Linked DNA regions of Homo sapiens: region 2 is linked to region 1. Evidence: promoter capture Hi-C in human tissues and cell types (Jung and others, 2019). All regions are on one chromosome and are shown on one strand. Each heading gives the region's core, a stretch centred on a gene start or on the middle of the fragment in contact. The rest is flanking DNA. Distances are from core to core; before and after follow the strand shown. Region 1 holds the start of PLEKHS1 (pleckstrin homology domain containing S1). Region 2 has its middle 33 kb from the start of MIR4483.

Region 1 (2,572 bases), core at 30-2,529:
AAAGCTGCATTTGAGAGAAGACTGAGATGACTTGGACCTAGGTCCCCTGGCAGAACTCCACACAGCACCACATTCATGCTCATGGACACTCCCAAATAACATTTGCCCTCCCTGTGCCCTGTGGATGTCAAAGTGTGCTTTGGAGGACATCTCTGTCCTTCCAGTGTCTGCAAAGGGCTCCAGAGTCATGTGCTGCAACCATTCCTCCTTCATCTCCCCACCCACCGTAAAATGAGAGGACAGATAAGGCAGTAGGGTGTGGTGGTTTAGAGTGTTAGCTCTGGCATCTGGGTTTAAATTTCATCTCCATGAATTATGAGGAATGTGATCTTGGATACTTTATAATACTTCTCTACACCTCCATTTCTTCATCTGTAACATGAAGGTTATTACTACCCTCATCAGATTGCTGGGAGTATCACTTGAGATACCCTGTTGATGAGCACTCCTCAGTACATAATAGAAGCTCAATAAATGCTAGTTGTTAGGTCCTTTCCAGCTCAGATATTCTATGATTCTATGGTTGTTTAATAATGGGTAGCATTTTTTGAGTACTTAATACATTCCAGGCACTTCTAAGCAATATGTATATGAAAGATTTTATGTATATGTATACATATAATTTCACATATACATATAAAATCTCATCCTAACCTCATAACCGTACTCTAAAGCTTGCACTGTTTTCACAATGATACAATGCCCATTTACAGACGAGGAAATGGTTATCGGAGAGATTAAACAACTTTACTTTGATCATGTAATTAAAAAGAAGCAGAACCAGAATTCTAGCTTGAGAGCTGGCCTTAACTACTTTGCTTTTCCTCCTATCTAAGAAAGTAGAATTAAGTCTTTTCATAGTTCTGCTTGTTTTTCTTGTCATTGCCCCCAAACAAAAAAGAAAGCCTTTCTGATTTAGCTGTTTGATCTCATTCAGGAGAATCTCCCCACAGTCACTGCCTGACCCATTTATTATAACATTATTTTGGATTTGGTGAATACAGTATACCAAGAGGTCAGTCCTATTTCCCTCTGACTATAGTATAGCCTAGGAAGCTTATGAAGAAAGTGCCCATAACAGAAATACAGCATATCTGCAAAATTTTCCATTTCCAATTTTGCAATTGTTCAATTGCAAAAAAGCTTCTAGATCATCCCAGCCTTGGAAGTCCAAACCAGATACACCAAGCAGTACTTACTGGAAGCCAAGAGGTCGCTGGTCCAGTGCTCAGGAAAGTGCCTTGTCCCGAGGATTCCTGAACTCACTCCTGCTGACTCTGAGCCTTGGTGCCTGGGTGAGGATTAAGCACAAACTCTGCTTGAAATCTGAACCACCAGGAAGTTCCCAAACTAATATCCTTGAGCAGATTTTATTCTTGCCCCAAACTGAAATGGAAGCTATGCCCTCAGGGGAAGTTCTGGGCCTTCATACTTGTGGCTTGCCACAGAACTCTCCTTGGTGTCCCAGCTGCCTAGCACCAAAAATGAAAGCAAACACATTAATAATAAAAAAAAATTCCTGCCAGACTTTGGACCATGGTCACAATAACCCTTATTGAGAACAACGCCAATTTACCCTCAACCGTCTGTGGTGACTACCATTGAAAAAAAATCCCTATGCCTCCCTCAGCCATATCTTAACCAATGTCTTCCTGGGAAGGGTAGAAAGGGTTCCTTTGTACCAGATGAGGAAACAAAAGCCTGGCTTCTCTAAACACTTGTACATGCCAATGGTTTCCAGGAAGAGTTGCTCATTCAGCCATGACAGAGTGTTACCATCAACAGGGTGGCGCTAGGCATGTTCCCCTGCACAGCCACCAACAGCAATTGAGCAAACCATCATTCTTAGACCTGGTGAGTGGTATCCAGCCACCAAAGGGTCTTAGGTATATTTTCATGTGTATTACAGATTTCTAGGGGAGAGGAAGAAGTGATGATGAATTTTATCCTGTTCTACTGCCTTTAGAAGTAAAAGTACATCATTTGAATCCTCATCCTCACGAGGGTAGCTGGTCTGGAATCAGCTCTGCCATGGATCCATTGTGTGGTCTTGGCAAGTTAACTGGAGTTCTCTGAGTCTGTTTCCTCATCTGCAAAATGGAACAGATAATACTGACTTCACAGGATTTTTTTTTAAAGTTAAGTAAAATTTCACATATAAAAAGCATCTAGCACAGTGCTTTATCCACAGTTAGCATTCAACAGAGGGTATTTCTTTGTTTTTCTCTTTTGCATCCTATGGAGGGTAGATGTTATTGGTTTCTTCATTTAGCAAACCTAGCTGGACTTCAGGCATACAGAAATTATTGATATATTGTTTGCTTCCTGCACAGGACCAGTTTTGCTTGATTTAGGAAAAACAATTTCTTAATTTTGATATAGTTTGGATGTCCCCTCCAAATCTCATGTTGAGATGTAATCCCCAGTGATGGAGGTGGAGTCTGGCTGGAGGTGTTGGGTCCTGGGGGTGGATCCCTCATGGCTTGGTTCTGTGTCTGAGATAGTGAGTTGTACTGAGGTCTTTATTTAAAAGTGTGTGGCATCTCCCCCAACTCTACTGCTCCCACTCCCA
Region 2 (2,572 bases), core at 31-2,530, 60 kb before region 1:
TGGACTTTTTTGGTTGATAGGCTATTAATTACTGCCTCAATTTCAGAGCTTCTTATTGCTCTATTCAGAGATTTGACTTCTTCCTGGTTTAGTCTTGTTAGGGTGTATATATACAGGAATTTATCCATTTCTTCTAGATTTTCTAGTTTATTTGCATTATAGTATTCTCTGGTGGTAGTTTGTATTTCTGTGGGGTCAGTAGTGATATCCCCTTTATCACTTTTTATTGTGTCTATCTGATTCTTCTCTCTCTTCTTTATTAGTCTACTGGTGGTCTATCTATTTTGTTAATTTTTTCAAAAGACAGCTCCTAGATTCATTTGATTTTTTGGAGGGATTTTCATGTCTCTATCTCCTTCAATTCTTCTCTGATCTTAGTTATTTCTTGTCTTCTGCTAGCTTTTGGATTAGTTTGCTCTTGCCTTTCTAGGTCTTTTAATTGTGATGTTGGGTGTCCATTTAAGATATTTCTAGCTTTCTGATGTGGGTATTTAGTGCTATAAATTTCCCTCTTAACACTGCTTTAACTGTGTCCCATAGATTCTTGTACGTTGTCTCTTTGTTCTCATTGGTTTCAAATAACTTCTTGATTTCTGCCTTAATTTCATTATTTACCCAGGATTCATTCAGGAGCAGGTTGTTCAATTTCCATGAAATTGTGTGGTTTTGAGTGAGTTTCTTAATCTTGAGTTCTAATTTGATTGTACTGTGGTCTGAGAGACTGTTTGTTATGATTTCAGTTCTTTTGCATTTGCTGAGGAGTGTTTTACTTGCAATTATGTGGTTGGTTTTAGAATAAGTGCTATGTGGCACTTAGAAGAATGTATATTCTGTTGATTGGGGGTAGAGAGTTCTGTAGATGTCTACTAGGTCCACTTGATCCAGAGCCGAGTTAAAGTCCTGAATATCCGGTGGTGTGGGTTCACAAGTGGGCTCTTCTGATCTGTGGGTTGCACAGTTCCGTGAGAAAAGCACAGTTTTCCCTGCTGGGCAGCACGCTCACTCACTGCCTCCCTTGGCTGGGGGGAGGGGGTTCCCCTTCCCTGTGTGGCTCTCAGGTGGGCTGCCACACCACACTGCTCTTCCTTCCCTCTGTGGGTCACACCAGCTTCTAGTCAATTTTGATGAGAGAACCTGGATACCTTGGTTGTCAGTGAAGGATTCACACGCTTATTATGTTTTTTCCCAATGGGAGCCTGCAAATGCTGCTGCTTCTAGTCAGCCATCTTGGCCCTGTCCCCGGGCCATAGATATGATCACACAACTTCTAATTATTTAGTATTCTTTGAAAAGAGATATTGCTTAATCAGCCAGTATAGTAATGAAAGCTGTTGACTTAGTGTTCAGAGACTATAATTTAGGTAGGCCTGGTTCTGCCACTAACTTTGTGACACTGGGCAACTTAGTCCACTATCCTGCATCTCAGTTTCCTCCACTAGAATGAGAAGTAATTGATCTTAGGTCCTGCCTGGAAGATTCTATGAGTCTGTTAGCTTCATTGCTATTTTTTTTTTTCAAAGTATTGCATGGTTTGCCAGGGCTTGGACATGATCATATTTTTCAAGCTAATTATCACAATGGATGTATGCTATAATATTAAGATATGTCAGGTGAGAAAATGTTTTGAGCTAATATGTTTATTTTACTTATTAATATGTATTTATCTAATGCTTTTTGATATAATATATAAACAGCAGAACTGGCTGGGTGTAGTGGCTATGAGTTCAAGACCAGCCTGACCAACATGGTGAAACCCTGTCTCTACTAAAAATACACAAATTAGCTGGGCGTGGTGGTGCACACCTGTAGTCCCAGCTACTCAGGAGGCTGAGGCAGGAGGATCACTTGAACCGGGAGGCGGAGGTTGCAGTGAGCTGAAATCATGCCTTTGCACTCCAGCCTGGGCAACAGAGTAAGACTCTGTCTCAAAAATAAAAAGATAAAAAATAAAACAGCAGAACTTCCCCCAGCTTGGGTTTGGGGCCTGGAGGTACAACAGTGGAAGAATCAATCCCTCATGGTGGTGTAAAGTGTAAAATGGTTGTATTAACCATAAAATGAGGCAGTGAGCTGACAGCAACAGAGCAGCCCAGTAGTAAGTGAGTGAAAGAGTTTAGAGAGCACGGCACACTAACTCTTCAGCACTCCCAGGGTGAGCACACAGGCACTGAGCACATCCATCAATACAGATTATTCATTCTGACTAGCAATGTGTTGATACAAATACTTGGTGAAACCTATGTATCTTACATCAGTTGCCAAACAATGGCTTACAGTTCAGAACTGCAGTTTCCAGATTCAAGTTAGTGGTGTAACACATGAACAGCCTTTTAGCAGCCTATGGAATGTCTTTGGTGATTCCTGTTGGACAATAAACACACCGCAGTATCTGCTCCTCCCCTGCACGTAGAATAAATTGATGGCCCAAGAGACATGAACAGAAAGGATACATTTGAAGGTTTCATGTGGCTTTAGGGAGAATCGGAAGTTGAAACCTATAGAAGCTGAGTGACCCTGAGTAAGAACTGCTCATCTCCTACTCACAGGAGAGCGCTCTTTCATGCCATTCCCT

What was found. The method cuts DNA at HindIII sites, captures the fragments that hold promoters and counts their contacts. A contact is called where the count stands out against the background at its distance.
Region 2: a fragment that was not itself captured here is called in contact with the fragment with the promoter of PLEKHS1 in region 1 in 1 of the 25 tissues and cell types used here (aorta).

What each region holds. Positions count from the first base shown.
Region 1 is chr10:113,750,389-113,752,960 of GRCh38, reverse strand. It overlaps PLEKHS1 (pleckstrin homology domain containing S1), which reads right to left and starts at 1,279. Exons shown (of 13, transcript NM_001395068.1): 1 at 1,200-1,279. The HindIII fragment of the contact is 5,664 bases long and covers 866-2,572 here.
Region 2 is chr10:113,810,048-113,812,619 of GRCh38, reverse strand. No RefSeq gene overlaps it. Among named protein-coding and RNA genes, the nearest start is that of MIR4483, 33 kb to the right of the region's middle. The HindIII fragment of the contact is 8,663 bases long and covers 1-2,572 here.